Linked DNA regions of Homo sapiens: regions 1 and 3 are each linked to region 2. Evidence: promoter capture Hi-C in 16 types of primary human blood cells and fetal thymus (Javierre and others, 2016). All regions are on one chromosome and are shown on one strand. The core of a region is centred on a gene start or on the middle of the fragment in contact, and the rest is flanking DNA. Distances in the headings are between cores, read along the strand shown. Region 1 has its middle 3.5 kb from the start of CA5BP1-CA5B. Region 2 holds the start of REPS2 (RALBP1 associated Eps domain containing 2). Region 3 holds the start of AP1S2 (adaptor related protein complex 1 subunit sigma 2).

What was found. Contacts are between HindIII fragments. The CHiCAGO score rates a contact against its expected background, and 5 or more counts as called.
Region 1: a contact is called between a fragment that was not itself captured here and the fragment with the promoter of REPS2 in region 2, in 1 of 17 cell types (activated CD4 T cells). The highest score is 5.2, in activated CD4 T cells.
Region 3: a contact is called between the fragment with the promoter of AP1S2 here and the fragment with the promoter of REPS2 in region 2, in 1 of 17 cell types (naive CD8 T cells). The highest score is 5.1, in naive CD8 T cells.

Annotation. Positions count from the first base shown.
Region 1 is chrX:15,670,251-15,673,626 of GRCh38, forward strand. It overlaps a transcript of CLTRN not described here. Among named protein-coding and RNA genes, the nearest start is that of CA5BP1-CA5B, 3.5 kb to the right of the region's middle. The HindIII fragment of the contact is 2,251 bases long and covers 761-3,011 here.
Region 2 is chrX:16,945,044-16,948,200 of GRCh38, forward strand. It overlaps REPS2 (RALBP1 associated Eps domain containing 2), which reads left to right and starts at 1,615. Exons shown (of 18, transcript NM_004726.3): 1 at 1,615-2,091. The coding sequence starts at 1,819. The HindIII fragment of the contact is 5,688 bases long and covers 1-3,018 here.
Region 3 is chrX:15,853,091-15,856,552 of GRCh38, forward strand. AP1S2 (adaptor related protein complex 1 subunit sigma 2) reads right to left here and starts at 1,723. Exons shown (of 6, transcript NM_001272071.2): 1 at 1,598-1,723. RefSeq lists silencers at 1,150-1,439, 1,660-1,939, 2,030-2,139 and an enhancer at 1,757-2,361. The HindIII fragment of the contact is 8,276 bases long and covers 320-3,462 here.

The DNA of each region.
Region 1 (3,376 bases), core at 636-3,135, 1.3 Mb before region 2:
TGTGTGACAGAGCGAGACTCTGTCTCAAAAAATAAAAAAAACAAAAACCAAAAACAAAACACACACACACACACACACACACACACACACACACACACACAAACCCCTTTGGAAGTTTTAATATCTTAATTAAATGGCTCTACTCAATGATTTCCTAAATGTTGTAGAATTTTAATAAATGACATCCTTCCTTGTTTAAATTGTAATGAAATGGATATACTATATATAATAAACAATATCAAGATGTTTGTATTATTAATAATTTATACAATGTTTTCAGTATAATTAGGCAACAAAAATAATTTTATTCTCTTTAAATTGTCAGTGTTAAGATACATGGAGAGACAAAGTATTTTTGTCTATTGTGTGTAAGTTCTATTTTAACTCAGTGGTTTTCAATTGGGGGTGATTTTGTGCTCCAGAGACACTTGGCAACGTCTGGTGACATTTTTAGTCATCATGAATGGCAGATGAGAGGATTCTACTGGCATCTAGTGGGTAGAGGCCAGGGATGCTGCAAAACACCCCCACAAACTTTAAAAATGTCATTTAGGTAACTCTTTTCTTCTTGTAGTTGAGTTAATGGAAATAACCCACACAAGGAAGAACAGAAGAAAAAAGGGAGACAAGTGTGTGTGTGTGTGTGTGTGTGTGTGTGTGTGTGTGTGTGTGTGTGTGTGTGTGTGTGGTTTCTCTAAGGCTAAGAATGTAAAAATATATACATTGCAATGCATTTCATGGTACTTAATTTCCAGTCACAAGCTTATTAGAACTTCAGTTTATGATTCAAATTAGTCAACTCAGTTTTCTTAAACTATCATATTCATGGGCTACGAGAAATGCAAAAATGAACCAAATATAGTCTCTGCCCTTCAGGAACTTACAATTTTGTAGGACACAAAAGTAAATCACGATGGCAATAGATGCACATACAATTGTGAACAAAATGCTATAGGAACACTGGAGAAAAAGAGGATAAAAAGTTACTGGATTTGACAAGTCAATTATAAAACTGTTAACAAAAGAAAAATAGAAGAAAGGTTTCTCAATGATAATCAAGATAGACCTGGAACAATGGCAAGATGTTTAAAGATAAAACATGAAAGCCCACAGGATACAAGTTAAGGAAATCTGAAAACAAACACAAAGGACAGATACAGGATATGGCCAACAGCAGGGACTTGCTGGTAGAGTGGTTCAGAGGAAGATGGGGGAGAGAGCATCAGTGTAGATGCATCTGAAAAGCCAAGTTGGGTTCTGATCTTAGAGGTCAGAGAGTCTGGATTCTCCAACAATGGTCCTGAGAGGCTAATGAAGATTTCAATGTGGGAATGGGTTCATTGTAAATGACACAGAGAAGGACAATGGGAGATGGGAAGGACATTCCCTGACAGTGAGTTTCCAATGTGCCCTTTATTTACTAATCACAGGCTGTTGGACTGGCAGCCCACTACGTGCCCATGACTACAAAAAACAGGAAATTATTTTTCATTGGCCATCTTAATAAAAAGATAAATGAGCTTATTTTAATAATAATTTTAGAATATAGAACAGATGATGTTACAATCTTTTGGTATGCTTAATTTTATGCGCGCACACACACACACACACACACACACACACACACACACACAATTTCCAGTATCCTTGGTAAGCAAGAAACTCTATAATGTGGAATATTTTTGTCTCCATCACATATATCCCCTTTTTAAGATGAGAAATCATATTAAGCAAGGATATTTGAAAAGCTCATCAAATTTTGTAGGTTAATCAGTAGCCATAATCATTATGAACTTTGTCTTATTCTTCACAAGTTAACATTTTTCTACTTCAGAGAAAGTTAATCACTACCGTTTGGAAATAAAAATTAATTCAGATCAACTGAGTGAGTGTAATTCTGCCAACTTTATGCTCCTAAAGTAGCAATTTAAAGGACAGTTTCTTAAATGGGAAAAAAAAAGTATGTGTGTCTGTGTGTTTCATCTTGTGCATGGAGACCAATGCTTTATAATGGGTCTCATGTAGTTAAAGCAAGACATTTCTTTTACAGGTTTAGCTGGTTCCACTGTTGCTCAGGTGTAAGAGTTTTCTCATGATTTGGCAAGTCAATTTTCTCTTTTTACTAGGCTAACAGTATTGCAGCCATGGTCTATGAAATAGTATTTTCCATCCTTAATCATCAATTTGCCCACCAGTTGGAGGTCACCTAGTCACATTTAGCCCTGACAACAGGTACTTCTTTTGCCAACCTCTATAAAGGGTGTGGGGGCGGGGGCGGGATCAGACCACATAACTTTTAGGTTATATGCTCTCATTAATATTAAAGACATATGAATTAATCAATATCTCAGAATTTCTGATCCTACGTTTCGGCCAGTGATGACCCTGAACCCTCTACTGTCTGAAATTCATCAAAAGTCTTATGAGAAATGTTTTTGTGGACTGCCTAAAAGATGTGCACAAGAGATCCCTATTACTACAAATCAGAGATGACAGGTTGTTTGCAGCCATTTGCTCATCCCACACCCATGACAAACATTTTTTATCTATTTCAGAACTTTTTCCTTCTGTGCATGGACTCAGCCACCCCAACTGAGCTATTCAGTCCACTAATATGAATAAATGGGAGTTGACATGTGAGTTGAAACTTATGTGCCATTATGGGGAAAGATTATCTAAATGCTACCCTGAATTAAACCAGACCATTGTGGGGCTGTGTACTCAGTCGAACAGGAAATTTTGGATGGTTCATGAAATTGATTCAGTGCCCTGTGCTTTGTGATTATGCCAACAGTTTCCATTGAGGGAATGTGGGTGTAACAACTTATGACACTTATTTCCCACGTAGCTCACAGCGTCATCATGATGAGGAACTGGGATTTGCCTTGGGGCTAAAAATTATTTTTAAAAAAACAAACAGTGCTTCTCAAAAGCAAACAAAATCCTGATTGATTGGTTTTTATGAACACCGTAAAACTTTAAAATACTTGTTATCTCCTGTTTTCTATGGAAGCTTAGAGTGAGATCTCTTGCCCACCTTCAAAAACTGTTCTGGATCTGAAAGTGTGCATACTTGAGTGTTAATCTTACCATTGGCTACATTATTTATTCTCCCTCCATGAATTTCCCCTCTGGTTCCTTAAACTATAATACTTACTTTATACAGTGTTGCCTATATTTTGGTACGCGGCCTCAAATCATCTGGGAGAAAATAATGCTATAAAAATCAATGCAGTAATTTACACAGGCTGCACTTGATCCCATTTCCGGTGTGTTTAATTTTTCATGCAAAAAATGATTAGCATTGGCAACATTTTATATAAATGAGATAGAGTTCTCAGAGCCAGGGTGAGCTTAATAAAAAATGTTTTGTTGA
Region 2 (3,157 bases), core at 365-2,864:
TCTCTCTTTCTCTCTCTCTCTTTGAGACAGAGTCTTGCTCTGTTGCCCAGGCTGGAGTGCAGTGGTGTGATCTTGGCTCACTGCAACCTCTGTCTCTTGGGTTCAAGTGATTCTCCTGCCTCAGCCTCCCAAGTAGCTGGGACTGCAGGCACTCACCACCATGGCCCAGCTAGTTTTTGTATTTTTAGTAGAGATGGGATTTCACCACGTTGGCCAGGCTGGTCTCGAACTCCAGGACTCAAGTGATCTGCCTGCCTTGGCCTCCCAAAGTGCTGGGATTACAGGCATGACCCACCGCGCCCGGCCTGGACTTTCTTTTAAAAGCGGCTAGAGGGCCAGGCGTGGTGGCTCAAGCCTGTAATCCCAGCACTTTGGGAGGCCGAGGTGGGGGGGTGGGGGTGGGGTGGATCACCTGAGGTCAGGAGTTCGAGACCAGCCTGACAAACATGGTGAAACCCCGTCTCTACTAAAAATACAAAAATTAGCCAGGAGTGGTGGCAGGCGCCTGTAATTCCAGCTACTCGGGAGGCTGAGGCAGGATAATCGCTCGAACCCGGGAGGTGGAGGTTGCAGTGAGCCAAGACTGTGCCATTGAACTACAGCCTGGGCAACAAGAGCGAAACTCCTTCTCAAAAAAAAAAAAAAAAAAAAAAAGTGGTTAGAGTACTAGCCAGGGGGAAGCAAGCACATTTGAAAAATATAGTGTGTATGCTTTAGGATAGGGAGGAATGGAGAGAGAGAGGAGGACATGGACCGGGGTGGAAAAATGTGGGGTTTCGCATTGATTTTTGGTGTGAGCTTGAACAAGTTTTGTACTAAAAAAAATGCCTGTTTTACTACTAAAATAAGTGCTTCCTTTGGAGAGTGAGGATCCTCTGTTACTGAGGTTTGTATTTTCAGGCCCTAGCATATAAATCTGCTACATACGAGATATTCAACTGGTTTTGGAGGAATGAAGGTGAACATGGCAGTTTCCTCATCTGTAAAAGCAGGGTTTGGACGAAATGATCTGCAAAATGGGTCTTTTTGTACTCTTACTACTCTAGTATTTACGAGTAACCGATGTTATTCCTTATAAAGTCTCAACTCCTGGTTTGAGCCATGTCTGACGAGGGGGCCTAACTCCAATACCACCCTGAACACTCTGGGGTCAGTGGGACCCTGTTTGTACAGACGTCTGCGTCTTCCGGCTCTTTAGGACATAAGCAGTACTGCTATGGAAGAAAGGAAACCTAATTTCCCATGCCTTGTCCCTTTCTGGAAAGGGCATGGCGTGGTGTGGGCACCACACCTGCCCCAGCCTTCTAGCAAGAAAACAACACAACCTTCCCCGCTCCCCGAAAAGAGCTTCTCTCCAGTTGGGTCTAGATGCCCCCTTCCCAACCAGGGCGGATGGCCAAAGGCTCCGCTCCCTTGCAGGGTAGGCTTGGAAAGGCACGGGGCCCGCCTTCCTGGGCACCGGAGCCTGTGACGGGCGGAGGGCGTGCGGCGCGCTGGGTTAGTTACCTGGCGCTGGGCGGGGCAAGCGGGAGGCGGGGGCGGGGCCGGGGTGACATCTCAGGCTGTGATTGGGCCGCGCCGCGCCTGTCTCCATGTGCCGCGCAGCTGAGGCACAACATTCAAGCCCGGGGGTGGGGCCGGCGCGCGCCGGGAGGAAGCGGCCGCGCGGCAGCTGCGGGGCGTGGGGGTGGTGGTGGCGGCGGCGGTGGTGGCGGCGGCGGCGGCGGCGGCAGCTGAGGCCGAGGAGGCGGTGGCTGTGGCGGACGCAGCAGCACCCCAGCTAGGGACAGGGCTCCGCCGCGCCCCCTTGCTGGCCCCATGGAGGCGGCAGCGGCGGCGGCGGCGGCGGCAGCGGCAGCGGCAGCGGCGGGCGGGGGCTGTGGCTCCGGGCCGCCGCCGCTGCTGCTGAGCGAGGGCGAGCAGCAGTGCTACTCCGAGCTCTTCGCGCGCTGTGCCGGCGCCGCGGGCGGGGGCCCCGGGTCTGGGCCCCCCGAGGCCGCCAGAGTCGCCCCCGGCACGGCCACTGCGGCCGCCGGCCCCGTGGCTGACCTGTTTCGGGCATCGCAGCTGCCCGCCGAGACGCTGCACCAGGTGGGTCCCTCCGCCTCCTGTCCCTGCGGGTCTGTGGGGCAGTGTGTGCGGGGGCGGAGGTTGCGAGTGGGGCGACAGGGCTGCCCCCAGGGACCCGGAGGCCTCGGCCAGTTCTGAGAGAGAGGACTCTGCAGCCGGGGATGGCGGCGACGCCCTTGTCCCCGGGGGACACCAGCCTCCTTCGCAGCTCAGCTCCTCGCCCAGTGCTGGGTGCGCTCTCCCCATCTTCCTTCCCTGAGACAGTCTGACACTCTCTCCCCTCCCCCGGCCATTTCTGGGGTTCTGCAGCCGCCCAGACCCAAAGTTTGTCCTGTTCTGGAAGTGGTGTTTGTTTTGGCTGCTGCCTGGTTTAACCTCTGCTCGCTGCTCCTGCCCCTCCCTCTCCTGAGTGGGTTCTCAGGGTGCCTTGCTGGGATTTCAACTTGAAGGGTGTGTGTGTCCGTAGGGTTCGAGGCCCAGGGCTGAATGTTGTCCTCTCTATGTAGTTGTAATATATAAGTATCTACTATATGTAATTGCCCATAACATATTTCTAAATATTAATATTAAATCGAAAACCTTAATGACAAGTTGCAGAACAGGGACACGGGACTGCAAGAGGACGTTTGTCAAGTCAAAACCAAATTTCCCATTTGAGATTAGAGGTGGACTTCAGAAGTCCACCATGGGAAACAGCTGTAGTTTCCCATCTATCATTACTTGGACTTGAAATAGAATTGAAAGGTAAGGGATGTCATAGCTACCACCTTTTGGCTGTTCTATACTTGGAAAAGTACTAGGGGATGATACATACCAGACGCTGTTTTTGTTTTGTGCTTTCCTTGGAGCTTGGAGAAAGACTACTTGATAAGCCTTTGTCTGTCATTTCATGTCACCAGCACTTCATGGTGATAAGACTGTTAATATCAGGTTCAAAACGTGAAATGAAGCTTTTCCTAAAAGCAATAGTATGAATGTTATTAACACCAATGGAATATTTAGAGTGGCGAGTGGTATTTTAAAATCTAGTTTCAAAGGAGAACTGAGGGTTTTATGGTTCACTTGCAATGTCATTGTGTTCATACGT
Region 3 (3,462 bases), core at 473-2,972, 1.1 Mb before region 2:
AAATTTTCATTAATAAAAAAGTATGTTTTCATCTGACTTTTAAAGCATTCCAACTTAAATATGTACAAAATCTAGAACTGAGTTAATGTATTATGAAAAAGAAAACAAACGTTTAAAAGGCCACAATAAGATTTACACTTATTAAATAAGATTCAGCATTGAAACATTACATGAAATACTTCATTTAAAATAAAAAATAGTATCTACAGATGGAATGGATGCTGAATTCTAGTGTGTTTTATACTTAAACTAATTTGTATGTATTTATTTGTGATCTGCAAATGTGTTGATTAGTCTGCATGTTTCATTTTTAACGCCAAGCTTTTTGTAATCCAATTGGTCATCTCAACTGCAAACAGAAGTATTGTTTCTACAAAGGTAATTTAAAGGCAGAATTCACATAGGTATCCTTTTTTCTTTTAATCACTGTTAAGTTCCTTTAACAGCGTTACTGCAAATAAGATTCAAGCATGATTCTCAAGATTCACCACACCATCTTGAATTTGAACACGGGGAGGGGAAATTTACAGAACCAATGTAGAATAAAAATGGGCCCTAAATTTCGGTAAGAAATTATCGTCGCTTTTTGTAACCACCCAAAAAGGTATCAACAAGATATCTAGAAATGTATGACGTGGCAATTCAACTTTAGTAAAGTTAAAATGGTCTTATTACCTCACTTAAAATGCGTCAGGGGAACAAAATATAAGGACATTATTAGGTGATACCAAAGTGCCTCCCGTGCAAGTCCTGAAGATAGCGGCATTCGAAGGGGGCAGGAAGTGAAGCATCAACTGGGCATTTACTGCAAACCCGTTACCAGAACTTGGAAAAGAATGGACCTCGTATTCCTAGATCTTGGTGACCAGAAAGGGTGAGGGTTTGCCTGCGAAGAGTATGGGCTCAAGGCTGTCTGGAGCAGGGTCCTGTATCCGCCCTACCACTTTGCAGGACGAAAAAACAATGTATTCTCCTTAAAATAAATTATGTCCTAACATGGGACGAAACCCGGTTGCAAAGCACGAGTATTCCTTCCCTCGTGTTAAAAACCAACGCTTTGATTTTGCCGCAAATCACAGGGCACCACAATTCCTCGAGACTGGCATTAAAAACAATGGGCTCAGCCGCGGCGCGGGCTCGGGGCCAGCGTTCCTCGGGTCCGGCCGTCGCCGGTGCCTCCCCCCCACTCCCGTGGCCACACTCCATCACTGACCAAGCCCGGGAGAGGTGACAGGCAAGGAGCGGAGCAGACAATGGCATCCGCCGCCGCGCAGGGGGCGCCAAGAGTCCTCGGCCGCCACCGCCCCCGGCCCCTCCCGAAAGCGCCCCGCAAAACTTGAGGCGATTCCCGAACCACAGGTGCCGCGAGGCTGTCGCGGAGCCCGGGACTGGCCCCCACATCCCCGGGCGCGGCGCGGAGTGGTGCGGAGGGCGCGGACACGGAGAGAAGTGAGTTGCGGGCGCGGCGACCCAGTGGCGGGCCGGGCAGGCTCGGGGTGGGGTCGTCGGGGCGCGCGCGGGGTGGCGGGGGGCGCGCCCAGTCCTCCCTCCCCCTCTCCCCCATCCCCGGCGCCCCCTTTCGCCCCCAGGGACTTACGGCGGCCGCGGGCCGCGGGCGCGGCGGAGCTTGGCCGGCGGCGGCGGCGGCGGCGAAGGGGAAGCCCCTGTCGCCGTGCTGAGGAAGAGAAGCCGTGGTGCTGTGGGGAGGACACCCGGCTGGCATAGGGCAGGCTTAGGCGGAGAGGGGAGGGCAAGCTGACAGACCCCGCCCCGGGGGCCGGACGAGGGAGGAGCCGGGGCTGCGGCGAGCTGAGGGGCGGGCTAGGCGACGCGCGGGAAGCGGCTCAGCGGTCGCCAGCGGCACCGGAGGCAGCGCGGGTAACCGCTGAGTCCAAGGCAGCCGATTGGAGGTTTCTTCGCTGAGGGGAGGTGCGAACCGGAAGCCGGGCCACGTGACCCGGAAGCGGCGTTTGCCGGGCCCGAGCGCCCGCGCGCCCGCGCGCTCTTGCAGGTGCCTCCGGGACGCGCGCGGGCGGCTGTCCTGCTTGTTTAATGATAGGAGGACGGGATTCTGCAGCGTCCTTAGCCTAGCGGGTGGTGCGGGGCAGGGAAGTTCCGGACAGCGAAGAGCCACGTTCGAGCTCTAATGATTCTCTGTGTCCCCAGAGAGGAAGTGTGAAGTGTGACGGCTGACGAGGAGGGTGGGAGGAGACGAGGGAGTGCTGCAACTCTGGAAAAACAAGTCAGCTCTTCTGTGGAGCTCGTCACGCATTCACGGGCCTTTTGCTATCATTCTGCCTCAAAATTGTCCGGAATCCGCCCTCTCCTTCCCATTGCACTGCTCCAGCCCTAGCCCAGACACCTTCCGCCCCGAGCTTCGCGGGAGTCTGTTCCCTGGGCTCGCCTCGCCCATCCTCGGTGCTGCGGACTGGATGAGTTACCGTCCGTTCGGCTGAAAAGCCCGGACAGCACCTCACCTTCGAGATCCCGCTTCCTTCACACTGGGTCGCCCCACCAGCCGCCTGGGTTCCAGTTTAGCACTGCCGACGACTTGCTGTGCCTGGCATGTCCTTGCTCCCAAATGTCACATCTATGAAGCCTCACCCTAAAACCCTGTAAGAGCGATTCCCTCTTTCACCCACATGCCCGTTAGCCTTTATTTAGCACACCTTAAATTGTATTCATTTTGCATCTCAATCTAGTTCACAGCCTGGTATATAACAACTAATAAATGTGAGTTGACTGATAAAGACTATAAAATGATAAATTTGTTAAGAGCTGTAATGCTGAGCGTAATGCCTGGGCATAATGGATGTTCATAATTTTCTGAATGATAGAATGGATGAATCATCTAGTCATTTACAGATAAGGAAAGGGGAGTCCCACGGGATTAGGTGACCTTCCTTGAAGAGCCACGGGTTTCCCATATCGAAATGCTATTCATTACCCGAGTCACCTAGGTTCTTACAAAGGAAGCGAGAAAATTGCTTTTGTTGGGCCATGCCCCTTTTGCAGAGGTTCCTAAGTATAGTCGCCAGAATTTTTTTAATGGCCTAAAGTAAAAAAAGAAATGCTAAAATTTTCACGAAGCTAAATGTAATCAATGTAAAGGAATCCTTTATTAGGGATTATATTCTTTTTGTGTACATTATAGTATCTATGAAACTAAGACAGTAGTTTTGGGGGCTTTTAAAAAATGCTTTTGTATGACAAAACAAAAAGAAATGTGTAATACTTCCCCTTTTCAAGCACTACTGTGCTGCTTGGAAAGTTTCCTACTAACATGTATGATTAATGTATACTGGAATATTAAAGAAAGGGGACGACACACGGCACAGAGCTGGCTTTCTGTAGTTCTTTAGGTCCCCCTCGCCCCCACCAGATTTCTCCCTACCTAGTCATGCCCCAAAGGTGCTTTCGAATGTCCCATTTCTCTCTTACTACAAGAAACAGATGCCATTA